Regions from separate parts of the Homo sapiens genome. Here regions 2, 3 and 4 are each linked to region 1. Evidence: promoter capture Hi-C in 16 types of primary human blood cells and fetal thymus (Javierre and others, 2016). All regions are on one chromosome and are shown on one strand. The core of a region is centred on a gene start or on the middle of the fragment in contact, and the rest is flanking DNA. Distances in the headings are between cores, read along the strand shown.

Region 1 (3,603 bases), core at 1,094-3,593:
TTTTCGCTGATCTTTTTTTCTGCCTATATAAATTATATAAGCTAATTGTATAAGCTTCATTTAATATGGAAAAGCCTAAGGAAGAAAGTAAAACTCCCATCACTGTGAAAGCCATTCAAATGTTTTAGTCACCATCTTTTCATATTTTGCCTACATATGTATAAACAATTTTAGGTAGATAGGATTATCTTATACATCCTGTTTGTAATTCTAAATATGATGGAGTTTTATCATCTTCATTTTATAGACTAGGAAGTGGAGGCTTAGAATTTTTTTTTTTGAGACAGAGTCTCGCTCCATCACCCAGGCTGGAGTGCAGTGTCAGTCTCGGCTCACTGCAACCTCTGCCTCCTGGGTTCAAGTGATTCTCCTGCCTCAGCTTCCTGAGTAGCTGAGATTACAGGCGTCTGCACCACGCCCAGCTAATTTTTGTATTTTTAGTAGAGACGGAGTTTTGCCATGCTGAGCCTCCACTTCCTAGTCTATAAAATGAAGATGATAAAACTCCATCATATTTAGAATTACAAACAGGATGTATAAGATAATCCTATCTGCCACGTTGGCCAGACTGTTCTGAAACTCCTGACCTCAAGTGATCCACCCACCTGGGCCTCCCAAAGTGCTGGGATTACAGGCGTGAACCACCATACCTGTCCTAAGCTTTAAATAATACAACTAAAATCTAGAAGTAAAATGTTTAGATTGAGTGCAGTGGCTCATTCCTGTAATCCCAGCATTTAGGGAGGCAGAGGTGGGAGGATCGCTTGAGGCCAGAAGTTAGAGACCAGCCTGGGCAACATAAGGAGACCTGGTCTCTACAAAAACAAAAAAAAGCTGGGCTTGGTGGCCACAGCCTGTAGGCTGAGGTGGGAGGATGGCTTGAACCCAGGAGTTTGAGGCTGCAGTGAACCATGACCGAGCCACTATGCTCCAGCTCCACCCTGGGTGACAGAGCAAGATCCTGTCAAAAAAAAAAAAAAAAGTTAGAAATAAAGAAAAGAAAATGCTTACATATTTATTTAATTTATTTTGAGACAGTCTCGCTCTGTTGCCCAGGCTGGAGTGCAGTGGCGCGATCTTGGCTCACTGCAACCTCTGCCTCCTGGATTCAAGCAATTCTCCTGCCCCAGCCTCCCGACTAACTGGGATTACAGGCACCCGCCACGACGCCCAGCTAATTTTTGTATTTCGAGTAGAGACGGGGGTTTCGCCATGCTGGCCAGGCTGGTCTTGAACTCGTGACCTCAGGTGATCCTCCCCCCTCAGCCTCCCAAAGTGCTGGGATTACACGCTTGAGCCACTCGACCAGGCCTATTTATTTTTTTAAACCAAGGGCTGGATAGGATTTGATCCGGGCTCCAGATAAAGGACTCCTAGGGAGATACCCTGGTTAGCAGAGGCAGTTAGGAGGCTACTAAAAATAGTTCAATCTAGAAATAATTAGGGCCAGAATTGTCTCCAGCAGCGGGCGGGGGTGGGGCTGGGGATGATTTGGGTAGTTATTTTGTTCTCTTCCCAGCAAGTAATTTCAGAGCAGCCCAGAGATTCATTTTCTAAACAAATGATGTTTTTCTCCCAAGACTGACAAGGATCAGACAGACCTAGGGTTGCCACTAGCACCTAGTATCTTTCAGGCTGTTTTCTTTTGTTTTTAAAGTGGATTAAAAGCTTTCAGCCTTACCTAAATCTTTGTTGCAATTGTACAGATCTGCCTAGATTTATAGCAGATGGTAGAACAGAAACAGTTCCCGACGGAATTAATCATCACATTATTAAAACAAATTTTCGAGCATTGACAAATCCCTTCGGGGTTGTCCTCCGAGTGGGCAATTCGTAACCAGCTTGGGGCGTGCTAAGATTGTAAACGTTCCTATGGAGAGCGATAACAAAGGGGCAGCAGTGACTCCGCACACAGAATTCCAAGAATCACCAGCATTCCATGTGTTCCAAGGCTAGCACAGTGCGCGCGAGGTCCGCTTTTTTAAACAGCGCGGAATCACGTGGCCGACAGCCCGCGGCGCTACTGGCCCTCGGAGTCTCCCTCTTGGCTTTGGCGCGGAACCTTTCCCCCTTTGTGGACGCGACCATTGGCCCCGCGCTCGGAGGTGGTACGGACCAACCCTACGGTCATAGATTTTCCGAGTGAAGCTTTTGACTAAGTCTCAGGAAAGCGTTAGCTACAGAATTCTAGATTCAAAAGAAATCCACCAAAAAACGCTGTGGAGGACTGGTTTTGCCTAAAAGAAAGAGCAGACCTGAACTTGACTCCTCCTACGCCCTGTGAAGGCTGCAAGGTGGTTCCGTCCGAGGCGCGGACTCCGCCCCCACGAGCGCCGCCATTTTGTTTGGCTGAGGGGAGCGAGCGGCGCTTTGGGGGAGGGGTCGCGTAGGCGCCTCACCTGACCCTGCGGCCGTGCGGTTGCTGCTCCGGGGCAGGTCTCCTTCCAGGCCAGGGGCCCGGAATCATGTACATAAAGCAGGTAAGGCCTTCGCGTCCCTCCACCCCGTCATGGGCCGGTAAGGGCCGCTCCTTGAGGCGGGAGTGTTGCGGCGCCACCCGCAGCCTCTCCCCTGTCTCCACAGGCTGGACCAGGGCTGGGCGGGGACTGTGGGGGAGGAGGGAGACCCGGGTCCCGCTAGTGCCCCGGCTGCGGGGTCGCGGAGAATTGGGGCACTCCTTTGCAGCCCCGGCCTCCCTGCTGGCGCTTGTCTGGGAGAGGCAGGATCTCCGAGAGGTGTGGAAGGGCCGGCGGGCGGGCCGCTGGGAGGGACTGGGCCTTCCTGGGTGGCCCCAGAGCTGGCGGGGGGCACCCCGCCGGGGCGGCCGCGGGCGGGAAGGGCTGTGTGGTCCTGCAGGGGTGGCCTCACACGGCCCATGTGCCTGGGATGTGTGGAAAGGTGGCTTCCCCGGCCCGGGGGCGGCCCTGGGGGCATTGGCTGGGGTGTCGTCACCTGTCACTGCGGGGAGCCGTTCTTCTCCCCAGTTAACCCGCGAAGTGAGCGGGACCCTCCTGCTTGCAGGATACGGAGCGCCGCCTCCCTCGGTTGTTTACTTCTGTCAAAATGGTCTTCCCGCGCGGGACTCCACCACAAAGATGAGCCCAGGCACACGGCCTTGGAGACGGTTTTCTGTTGGGTCTGTCGGGCTCTGAGCACTCCTTCTTTGGAACGTGGGTTCTTTCAGGCTGGCCGGCGTGAGTGACTGAAAGCAGCACTCGGTGGTCTTGGAGTCAGGAGAGCTGGGGCCCGTCGGCCTGCTTTTATAGACTTGCTATTGTACTGCAGCGTTTAGGGTTCAGTTAAGCTCACACAGTGTTTTTGATTTTGAAAGGTCCTTAACAGGTTGACAGCATAACTCCTAAAAAAAAATAAAACCCAGCAGCATTGCCTTGGCAAAGATTACCGATAAAAGTACCTTTTTTTTTTTTTAGCAGATTTTTAATCACCACTTTCCAAAATGAATTTTTCTTATATGAAATTTCGAGTTTTCTATATTGCATTAAATGAAAAACAAGAAAGAAATGCAAGAGAAAAATGTTAATTTTTTTTGTGGGGTGGGTTCTCAAAAATGTTTTTTATTTACTAGGTGATTATCCAGGGTTT
Region 2 (3,810 bases), core at 720-3,219, 310 kb after region 1:
TTTTTTCTTTTAAAAAAACAGATTCTGAAGGAAGATTTCCATTAGGTAATTTGTTTAATCAGTGCAAGCGAAATTAAGGGAAAATGGATGTAGAAAATGAGCAGATACTGAATGTAAACCCTGCAGGTAAGTAAGGATATCCTTTTTTCTTTTTTTCTTCGTTTTGAGACAGGATCTTGCTCTGTCACCCAGGCTGGAGTGCAGTGGTGTGATCATGGCTCACTGCAGTTTTGACTTTCCTGGGCTTAAGAGATCCTCCCCTATCTCAGCCTCCTCAGCAGCTGGGACAACAGGTGTGTGCCACCACACCAGGCTAATTTTTTATTTTTTGTAGAGATAGGATTTCACTATGTTGCCTAGGCTGAAATATCTTGAAGCTTGACTATGTTGTGAGGAAGCTTCAGACCATTCCATATTTTATAAAAACATGATAGAAAAACTATCTTTAAATACTCTTTTATTCATGCTGTAAGAAAACAGGCTATATTATTTTTAAAGTCAAGTTTGTGATTTTTATTTTCATGGAAATTCATTACATGTCCTATTTTTCTGCCTATCCTTTCACATTCCACATATTCCTATTCTCTGTTATATAGTACAGAATAGAGAAGAATAGTGAGCCTGCTTATTTTCACATGGGCTAGTTAGTGATTTCTGTAATATAAACTTACTGGTATCTTTGGTATCTTTCCTAACAAATAATTTTTATATTCTAAATTACCTAGGGTATTTTCCCTAATTCTCCATGGTGCTTCAATAGCATGTTATTATCATAAAAATGAACAGTTTTGTGGAATAGATGACCAAATGTGAGTAACTCAAGATAATTTAAAATGTATTTATAGTTTTAAAAATAATCTCCCAAAAAGTTAATTAGAATTGTGTAATATCTGAATAGTGAGAACAGTTCATATTGGTATACTTTGGATAATTCTTTGTCTTATAATTTTATTAATATTGAAAGCTATTTTCTGTCATTTTAAGTGTATTTCGTAACTAAATACTACATCTTTCTTTCCTCAGTGACTTAACTCACTATTGTTTACAATGTACATAGTTTTCTTTGATCTGAACAAACATGTTGAATTTGAAGCTTCTTTACCATTGTTTATTTACAGATCTTTTTAAAGTATGGTAAAAAATTGAAAAAAATTTATGTAATTAATGATCATTTCTGTGCTGCTGTATACAATAGCTGTATGAGTATGCTTTAGGGTTATAAATGGATAATATGTACCTACTTAATTGAGATGGGGATGGTAATACAGTTTAGAATATATTTTACATATAGGTAATTGCTTCTTTTCTGCACTGTCCAGTATGGTGACCACTAGCTACATGTGGTTATTACTCCTGGGCTCAAGTGATCCTCCCTCTTCAGCCTCCTCAGTAGCTGGATTACAGGCGTGTGCACCACTGTGCTTAGCCACATGTGTTTGTTGAGTACTTGAAATGTGGCTACTCTGAGTTGAGATGAAGGTCAACTATCTCAATAATTTGTTATATTGCTTGCATGTTGAGATGATATGGTTATATTAGATTAAATAAAATATATTTAAATTAATTTCACCTGTTTTTACTTTTTAATGTGGCTACTGGAAAATTTAAAATTTCTTATATGGCTTGCATTCTATTTCTATTAGAAATAGAAACACAGCTTTAAAATGTGTACTTTTTGTTTCCTAACTACAATAAGACCTAGTTCTAACCCTGTTCTTGGTGCTTGTGTCCAGCACTGCTTTAAAATAAAAGACTTGTTCTTCAATATTTGAATAGGCCTAAGATAGACCCTCTTTGTAGTAAATTCTTCACATAGCAAATAGTCCAAGTCACACTCTTACTCTTTTACTTGGAGGAAGTAGGTTATTCTGACCTTCAGTTTTTTCATGTATAAAATTGGGATATAAATACCCTCTGTATAGATTTATAATTAGGATTTAGTGAGATATTGTATATGTGTGTTAAGTCTGTGAAGCACATACTAGGTATGTAATACATGAAAGTGTGGTAATGTTATTCTAATTATGCCACTCATTGGACACCAGTAATTGAAAATGTGATTTTCTGGTGCTGTGGTCATATACAATTGGAGTGGTTACTATTGAGATATCAGAATTCAGAAAGAGGGAATTAGTACACAGTAGGAAACAATTTTGAAGTCAATCACATTCTGTACTCAGCTTATCATTTTAATTTTGGTTTTCTTAAAGTCAGCTCAATAGGGGTTATGGAACTCCAACAGTTAGGTGAGTATGAGTAACAAAATATAAAGCAATTAATACAAACATGGGTTAAAAATGATAAGGTCAAATATATAAATTATACTGAGAGAATGTTTACTGCTGCAGAGACACAAACATACTTGAAAGGATGTTAAAATTGTTGAAGAAAAGAAAACTCGATTATGGGAAATAGATGTATTTAAATTGAATACTCCAAGGGACAGTTTAAGACATTTTATTATAGTTCTGACTCCTGTGTCTTCTGGACCAGTTTTGTGGTTCACCTTAATGGCACAATGATGAAAGCACTATGTTACAGGTAGATGTTTAATGTTTTTCTCAACCATCCACTCTTACACGAAAATGTCATCTAATTTATGTGATCCTGATCTTTCTGTCCCCTTCCACTTAATCATTTTTGTTTATCTCTCTTTACATTCACGCCCTTGTTCGTCTCTTTAGCTGTCAATACTCTGCTGTATTCTAGTTTTGTATTTTCTGTAGTTATATGGGATTAAAAATGTGGGTTTGAATTCTAGCCATAATCCTTTCTAGATATGTAACTTCTTGTGAAACACATTCCTTCTGTAAAATGAGGATAAACAGTTTCTTTCTAGAGCTCTTGAAGCTTATAGACCACATATGTAAAGTGCCTTAGCTAATAGGTACCAGGTAGTGTGGAATCTAATAGGTACCAGGTAGTGTGGAACCTGGTATCTAATAGATGACAATAGTAATGGTAATGATGAAAGAAACAGTACTACGACTACTTCCACTAAGACTATAATTACTACTGATGGTTATGATGATGTCCCAAACACACCATCCTAACACCGGCTTCTTACCAGTTTGAAAACTTTTAAGGCATTGTTTGACTTCTCTTTAATCCTAGATACATTCTGCTTAAAAGTCCTTCATTATTTTCTTTAAAAGTGTAACATTATTATTTATCCCACAGTTACTACCCTTGCTCTTTACCAGTTAGCTTGTGACTGAATTACTGAAGCATTTTCTTAGCGGTTTCCTACTTTATACTTTCTCTTTTTGTAATATACTCAGTATTCTTCTGCCAAATGAATCCCTCCCATCTCTTCCCTATGATATCTAACTTAAGCTCTGACAATTTGAGTGTGGGAGTAGTTAGCAGTGATTCTGGTGAGGTAAGCAGGGGCAAGATCATAAAGGACCTTAAGTTACAAGGTAAAGAGTTTACATTTTGGCTGGGTGCGGTGGCTCACGCCTGTAATCCCAGCACTTTGGGAGGCCGACGTAGGTGGATCACGAGGTCAGGAGATCAAGACCATCCTGGCTAACACGGTGACCCCATCTGTACTAAAAACACAAAAAAATTAGCCAGGCGTAGTGGCAGGCATCTGTAGTCCCAGCTGGGGCAGGAGAATGGCGTGAACCCGGGAGGCAGAGCTTGCAGTGAGCTGAGATTGCACCACTGCACTCCAGCCTGGGTGACAGAGCGACACGCTGTCTCAAAAAAAAAAAAAAAAAAGTTTACATTTTTTGTGACATAATGGGACTACTTTTAAAGGATCTTCAGTGAGGGCATGCTTGAGAAAATCAGTCTTCATTCAGT
Region 3 (4,079 bases), core at 314-2,813, 280 kb before region 1:
TCCTTCTTTATGAAGGCAAAAACATGAATGGGTATCCACACCTTAAGAGGTAACTATCTCCTAAATGTCTGTTGATACCAAATCAGTATCAATGCCAAATCAAATGGCAGTTTGAATTATAATTGCCATTCCTGTTCTGCAATTTAAACAGGAGCCTGACTGGTAACTCCATATAACCTAACTGCATGTGGTTTAATGTGCCACATTAATAATAATATTAACTGCCTCAGGTAGGACACAAAGCCATTCTCATGATCTGTTCTCTAAATAACTTTTGGGAGCATCCTTTAGCTACACTATTATTCAAATTGCAAACAAGTCTGGAAGTTCCACTAATCTTATTTAGGGTACCCTATTTATAGAACACCTGAGTGACATTTATATTAAAAGGTACAGGTAGGCCAGGTGCAATGGCTCACACCTGTAATCCCAGCACTTTGGAAGGCAGAGGTGCGCAGATCACTTGAGGTCAGGAGTTTGAAACCACCCTGGCCAACATGATGAAATTCCGTTATCCACTAAAAAAAAAAATACGAAAAATTAGCTGGGCGTGGTGGCATGCACCTGTAGTCCCAGCTACTCAGGAGGCTGAGGCAGGAGAATCTTGAACCTGGGAGGCGGAGGCTGCAGTGAGCTGAGATCGAGCCACTGCACTCCAGCCTGGGCAGCAGAGCGAGACTCCGTCTCAAAAAGGTACAGGTAAAACCTACTGTAGCGCGTTATGACTAGAGGATTCTGAAGTCACTGCAACTCAAGTTTCTGGTTAGAATAGGTATGAGAACTCCTACAGAAATGCCTTTCTAATCTCCCTGACAATGACTGCTTTTAGCATTATGAAGGAATTTTAAGAGGCAGTGAGGATTATTGAGGCAAAGTTGCTGACCAAAATCAGGTTCCCAACAGTTAACCCAGAACAGTAAAGTGTGGGAAAAGCAAGTGTTTTAATTACACTGTAATCCCAGTTCCAACATTGCTGACCCTAGTTAAGTTGCTTGATTTCTTCATGGAGCCCTTTTCTTCCTGAAAAGCTATTATAAGTACTACCTCTATCTTGAAGGGTTGTAAGGATTTAAGCTGATATATATAAACTACCACCCCACTCCCTGACTGCCATCTAGGAAGATGTAGCACTAAGGAAATTAAAAGGGGTGTATTTCTCTAGTTTCTCTGATGAATGCAACCTTTTAATGCATCCTTAATCCTGAATTTTAGTTACTTTGACTCCAGATCTTACAGAAAAAGACTGTTCCTAAATATTGGTTCACTTAAAATTCCATGGTAGGTAATACTTTAACATAAAGTAGTTATTTTTTATTTCCTATAGAATTTCTTTCTGTCACCCAGGCTGTAGTGCAGTGGTGTGACCTCGGCTCACTGCAACCTCCACCTTTTGGGTTCAAGCAATTCTCCTGCCTCAGCCTCCTGAGTGGCTGGGACTATGGCATGTGCCACCACACCCGGCTAATTTTTGTATTTGTTAGTAGAGAGGGCATTTCACCATGTTGGTCAGGCTGGTCTCGAACTCCTGGCCTTATGTGATCCGCCCACCTTGGCCTCCCGAAGTGCTGAGATTACAGGTGTGAGCCACTGCACCCAGCCTCCTATAGAATTTCTTAAATGAAGGCTTTATAAGATTAATGCAGCATCAGTTTTAGTGATTAGTTGGTCTTTCTAGAAAAAAGAAAAAGGACTAATCTCAAGTTGAACATATTATACACTGATAATAATGTGCCCTAGGTCAGTATTTAGTGCTGACTTTGCCAAGAAAAGACAATCAGCAGCTATCTCCTTTCCTATGTATCAGAACTAATAGGAAACTGGTTTTCTTGTGGAATATGTCAGATTGTTTTAAATAGGCAGCGTAGTTCAAAATAAATGTACTGGCTGAAAACTTCACTTCCTGTTGTTTTACCTTTCTATACAGTCATAAATTAGAGAAAATGGCTTTAAATGAAGTTCTTTTAAGATACTGCCAACTAACTTACTGTAGTTTTGGAATTTTTTCCATATCCTCAAGCTCATAGCTCTTTGCCATGGGGAATGCTTTAAAAATCTTTATTGGTAGGGTAATAATTGAGATACTTATTTCAGATGCTCACACCAGGGCACAGAATAGCACTGTAAAAATATAACAAAACCTATAAAAGTACCTCTAAAATTATAAGAAGAATATACATTTAAGATCAGTCGTTTCTAAATTAGTAGCTTCATCACACTTAGAAAGCTAGGTCAACTAAACCTGAGGGGCGATTTTGGAGGGAAAAACTCCAGGCAAAAGAATTAAAGGGATACTTACTCCTTCCTGCTACTTCTGAACAATGAACATTTGGACAGTTACCATCTATTAAAGTGATTACTAGCCTAGCTTCAGATCTCAGGCTTCAACTCTAGTTTCCCAGGATATGGAGTCAAGTGTTTCCTCCAAGCCTGAATTCTTTGTTTCTCTGGTCAGAAATTCACTGCATCTTGCTAAAGTAAGTACAGGGCTTGAAAGGGGAAAAAACAAAAGCACATCAGTTTTACCAAGAAAGGTAAATCCTGAGCCAGCAAACAACAACCATAACTTTCAGCCCCAAGTTGAGAAAGTAGCTCTTCAAACAAAATGCCAACCTTCTCTCCTAATGATTATCACCATGGCTCTTTCAGCCGTATTCTTAAAAAAGACTAAGTGGAGAAACAAATTACAGTTTAAATAATTCCAGTGACTATACTGGTTTTGTTTTAAATGAACTGGTAAGGTGTGTGGTGGAACTAAGTTTCCAGTTTTTGTTGCCTGGGAACTGAAAGATTAATTAAATATCCAAAACTTCGTATTTTTAGCTAGTTCAGCTGTCAACTACTACAAACCCCTATTATTCTCAGTTCTGCTTTACCCCAATCAAGGCCACAAAAGAACCACCTTTATATACATAAGTTAAAAGGCAGAAAAGGCAATTAAAACACCTCACAGAAATCTAACACTATTTTGTTTTATTTTACTCTTTTGGCTAGGCCAAAACGAATTATTAAAATGTTCCATCTATAAAATTGATTTCTGAACCTCTTAAGATGTTTCTTAAGAACATAACTATACACATACATAGGCCTTTTAAAAGATGATTGGATAAAGGGCGCCAATTACTTGGGTTTTTCTGTTTGTTTAAAATACAGTATTACCTGTTATTTTGCCTGCTATGCTCCTCCTCTCTACTGCAGTAAAAATTCAGTTTAACTTGCAACTCAAAAATCCTAGATACAAAGAATGTTTACATTTACTGTTGAACTTGTAAATTGCCATTTATACTAATTGATTGCTTCGTAGTACCATACAGATACTTAATTCAGCTGATATTTATTGAATCAAGATTTAAAAAAATATAAAACCTCATTGGTTTTAATAGATTTTCTTCCTTTATATTTCAGTTACTACCCAAGTTAAAGCAAAAAGCTAAATCAAAGCTTTAAATTTTTTTTGGTTGAATTTACAACTGGTAGTTTTTTATCTTATAAAAATTGTAATTATAAAATTACAATCTACAGACACATGAGTCACACAACTACAGTTTTCCTTTATGTTAACCTGATGGTCTCCTTTGCTATTTTTAAGGCAGACATTTGGCATTAGAATTGCATACTGGAAACAGACACACACCCTTCATTGTGACAACAAGCAATTTTTTAAAAAAAATGTGTTGCTACAGTAACTGATGCATCTTGTTTTGGTTTGACGCCTAGTCTTCATGATTAGGCTAAAAGGTAATTTTTCTTCATTTCCAAAGTCAAACTTTTATAGTTAACAGTTCTCAGACGGGGATGCACATCAGGATCACCTGCGGTGTTCGTCAAACAACATACCTTGGCCTGGATAAGTCTAAGGTTGGTCCCAGGCCCACAAATTCCTCTTTAATTTTAAACAAGCATTAGGGGTGACTTTTATTATAACCTTCACCCCCTTCCCATTAAGAAACATGCCCTAGTATACAAATTAGTTCAAACCTTTAACTAGGAATACTAAATATACCCTACAGCCTTGGTAATTTGATAACACTTCAATAATACAGTTATAATTGGATGCCTCAAATCATAAACAATGGGTATTG
Region 4 (3,716 bases), core at 128-2,627, 300 kb before region 1:
TGCGTCTCAGATCTCACTTGCCAGCACGTAGGAAGTTTGTTTTGGTTTCAAAATGTACTTTACCCCATGGTGGCTGGCAGGGTACAATACTATTGACATCACTGTGTTTCAAATAGAAAGTTAACAAGTAGCTACTGTTGTGATTGCAGATTGCCTTCCCAGTCCCTGTGAGAGAATGCTTTTTCTTTTGGACAGCAACACTTCTCAGCCCCTTGGTACCATTAAATCAGCCAATGGGGGCTGCCAGAATAGAGATGAACACCAACAAAAGGCCAAAGAGTAGAAAAACTGTTAATAAGGCAAAAATCTTTAATCAGTTTCCAAATTGATGTGAAAGATAATTAAAAAATATTCTCTCCCATCGATGGCTAAGTTTTGACAGTAGTCCAGGTTCAGAGCCTGATCTCTCTAGAGAGGAGTATCCCTTCCCTCTACCCAGACCCCTGGAAAGTTGCCAAAGGAAAATAAGCTATTTTGTATTTAGAACAAATTGCCACTGTTTTCTCCAGTGATGTAGCCCTATTTCCCAGACTTTGAAACTTGGAATACAGAAAGTTCTTGTGTGACCAAAGAAGAAATATGGTGAATGAATGATCAAGTTTTTCTTTTTAACTAAATCCTTATAAACAGATAAGAGAGGGGAAGTATGCATAGAAACTAAATTTAGCACAGAATGGATGTCAAGTGAGCAATTTCTGTTAAATCACTTTGGAGTTTGGGTTCCTTGTGGGAGTTCCAGTGAAGAACAAATGCCTCTGGAACAAGATTTAATTATTTTTTTTTTTTTCAAATGAGGCTGTCAAAAATGAAGTCTTCCTTAGACATGAATGCAGGATAATTAAAAAAAATAGTTGTTTATATGTTCTGCACTATAGTCTTCAACTTAGCAAGCAGTCCATGGATCTGGTAAGCATACACTAGTTTCTCATTTATTACATGGGATTAAGAACTGTTGACTTAATTTTTTTCTTCTTTGCATTGTGGAATATTGCTTTTTAGACTTTCCCTTCTCATACCTTGGTTTTCTTAGCTGTTTGTTTTCCTAGTCCTAGGCCCCTTTCACTGTAAATACTTTGATAAAGTCATTCTGTTGTAAAAGCTGCAGTTCTTAAACCCTTTGCTTCACTATTAAAAAAGGTGTTGGCCGGTTGCGGTGGCTCATGCCTATAATCCTAGCACTTTGGGAGGCCGAGGCGGGCAGATTGCCTGAGCTCAGGAGTCCGAAACCACCCTGGGCAATATGGTGAAACCCCGTCTCTAGTAAAATAAAATAAAAAAAAATTAGGCTTGGTGGCACATGCCTGTAATCCCAGCTACTCAGGAGGCTGAGGCAGGATAATTGCTTGAGCCTGGGAGGCGGAGGTTGCAGTGAGCCGAGATCGCGCCACTGCACTCCAGCTTGGGCAACAGAGTGAAACTACGTCTCAAAAAAAAAAAAAAGTGTTGACTCTCATCAAGAGTTAGGTTGGAGACTGTTGGTTACTCTACATGTAGACATCTTTGGTGGTATGCACCTTATTAACATTTGCTGGTGATTTCAGCTGCACCAGAAAAAAAAAAGGTTAAGAGTTCTGGCATTCATAAATAGATCTCTCACAAATGCTGGCCTGGCATCTGATTATACTGTTTGGAGGTCCTGGTGTTGATTGTTACCTCAACTTTGGTGAGTTAGAGAGTCCCAGAAACATCCACTAGAAGTATTACATCTCTCCTCCCCACTGTGTGCCAGTCATTCTGTTTATTTGAAAAACAGAAATGACTAAAAGTATGGATTCACTCTCAATTGAAATACAGTGTGATTAGTATGAAATCAAGTATCATCTGAGGAAGGAGTATGGCAAGGATGATCTTGTGGAAGAAATTGTTTGGCCATGGCCTGAAAATGAGTTAGATGCCCACCAGGTGGACATTTGGAGAGAATGCATTCCAGGTAGAGATATTGGCAAGTATAAAAGCACATTTGGTTATGGAAGAGGTTTGCAAGGGTATGAGTTATGGGAAATGAGGCTGGAAAGGTGGTAGGCAGAGGACTAAATTATAGTCTTCAAACAGGTAAAGATTATACTACTGACAACTTGAAAAATCGTTATAGCATTTAGCTCAGTGGTATAATAAGGCACTATTGTTTACTGATGATAATTGTTATTGACTGAGTGGCACTTCATGTTCTTCATATTTCTGAGTTGTAAAGACTAAATGACATTTCAGCCTATGTGGTATCTGTGTAGTTTGAGAAAGAATATGTGACTATTTTGTCATCATTAATTTACATCTCCCTTTCCTCTCTCTTCCATATCTTCTCTCCCTTCTCCCCTGTCCCTTCTTTTTCCCTCTCCAAACCTTTGAGAGACATAATCCCAGCCATGAGTCAAAAATGATGTTCCAAAGTCCATAGTGATGTGTTGTGATTTGCTGTAGCAGTTTGAACATAGATTCCTGGAGGCCCTGGGATGTAGTACAGGTTGAGCATCCCAAGTCCACAAATCTGAAATGCTCCAAAATCTGAAACATTTTGAGTGTCAACATGACTCTCAACAGAAATGCTCATTGGAGCATATCAGACTTAGGATTTTTGGATTTGGGATGCTCAGCTGAGTATAATGCAAATATTCCAAAATCTGAAAAAATGAGAAATCCAAAACATTTCTGGTCCTAAGCATTTCACATAAGGAATACTCAACCTGTCTGAAATAATATGAAATTTGAAGTCTTCTTTTAAAAACACATTTTGCATTATCTGTGTTTGTTTTTATATAAAATATTTTTCTTCCAAATTTTTGAAAAAATTATGACTTCTGGAAAGGATAGTATAACCCTGTGGCTTCAAATATCCTCTGGCTCAGTGTTGAATACCTCTAGAGGTATATATAGCCTATGCTAAGAACTATTTATATTTTATTGAAAGAAAGTGGTTTTAAAAAGTCTCCCAAGAATAAGTAACATGCATCTCAACCATTTTAATTCTTATTTGTATACAGATAAGCCCTTTCATGCTGAGGCTGACAATGTGACAGAATAATTTATATTATTATATTATATATTATATGTAATTTGTAGAATTTGCAGCTTTATTATACCACTTGTTAATATTTCTATTTGATTATTTTATAAGATACCAATTAAGAAGGCTATTTAAGTGAAAGCTGCTTTTTTGAAAAGTGAGAAGAGAGTCCCAGCTATTTTCCTAAGTTTTTATTTCTGTCATCATTGAGTCCCATGACTACCACAATCAGATCTGACACTAGGGACCTGCCACTTGCCACGTTACTACCTGGGAGTTAACAGTCTGTTTATTTTCTGTGAAGTAGATAATATATGAGTTGTAGGTGAAACATACGATTATCAAATGCCATTTTGTAGAAATAGCTTGTTTAGCTTTTTTTTTTTTTTTTTTTTTTGTGAGATGGAGTCTCGCTCTGTCACCCTGGCTCGAGTGCAGTGATGCGATCTCGGCTCACTGCAACCTCCGCCTCCCAGTTTCAAGCAACTCTCCTGCTTCGGCCTCCCAAGTAGCTGGGACTACAGGCATGTGCCACCACGCCTGGCTAATTTTTTGTGTTTTTAGTAGAGATGGGGTTTCACCGTGTTAGCCACAATGGTCTCGATCTCCTGACCTCATGATCCGCCCGCCTCGGCCTCCCAAAGTGCTGAGATTACAGGCATGAGCCACCGTGCCTGGCCTTTGTTTAGCTTTCTTATTTCATGAACCGAATAAG

The links. Contacts are between HindIII fragments. The CHiCAGO score rates a contact against its expected background, and 5 or more counts as called.
Region 2: a contact is called between a fragment that was not itself captured here and the fragment with the promoter of SMC3 in region 1, in 8 of 17 cell types (fetal thymus, erythroblasts, total B cells and 5 more). The highest score is 9.1, in fetal thymus.
Region 3: a contact is called between a fragment that was not itself captured here and the fragment with the promoter of SMC3 in region 1, in 17 of 17 cell types (total CD8 T cells, total CD4 T cells, neutrophils and 14 more). The highest score is 14.8, in total CD8 T cells.
Region 4: a fragment that was not itself captured here is called in contact with the fragment with the promoter of SMC3 in region 1 in 1 of 17 cell types (total CD4 T cells); the score reaches 6.4 in total CD4 T cells.

The regions. Positions count from the first base shown.
Region 1 is chr10:110,565,352-110,568,954 of GRCh38, forward strand. It overlaps SMC3 (structural maintenance of chromosomes 3), which reads left to right and starts at 2,344. Exons shown (of 29, transcript NM_005445.4): 1 at 2,344-2,480; 2 at 3,587-3,603. The coding sequence starts at 2,466. LOC105378483 (a long non-coding RNA gene) reads right to left here and starts at 1,957. Exons shown (of 2, transcript XR_946318.2): 1 at 1,682-1,957. RefSeq lists enhancers at 647-1,349, 2,164-2,213, 2,224-2,323 and a silencer at 2,664-2,953. The HindIII fragment of the contact is 2,181 bases long and covers 2,147-3,603 here.
Region 2 is chr10:110,875,945-110,879,754 of GRCh38, forward strand. PDCD4 (programmed cell death 4) reads left to right here. Exons shown (of 12, transcript NM_014456.5): 2 at 22-126. The coding sequence starts at 84. Among named protein-coding and RNA genes, the nearest start is that of PDCD4, 5.9 kb to the left of the region's middle. The HindIII fragment of the contact is 1,757 bases long and covers 1,092-2,848 here.
Region 3 is chr10:110,287,385-110,291,463 of GRCh38, forward strand. It overlaps SMNDC1 (survival motor neuron domain containing 1), which reads right to left. Exons shown (of 6, transcript NM_005871.4): 6 at 3,346-4,079. Among named protein-coding and RNA genes, the nearest start is that of SMNDC1, 15 kb to the right of the region's middle. The HindIII fragment of the contact is 3,746 bases long and covers 1-3,436 here.
Region 4 is chr10:110,269,666-110,273,381 of GRCh38, forward strand. The region is part of intron 3 of MXI1 (MAX interactor 1, dimerization protein); the gene reads left to right. Among named protein-coding and RNA genes, the nearest start is that of SMNDC1, 33 kb to the right of the region's middle. The HindIII fragment of the contact is 8,320 bases long and covers 1-3,716 here.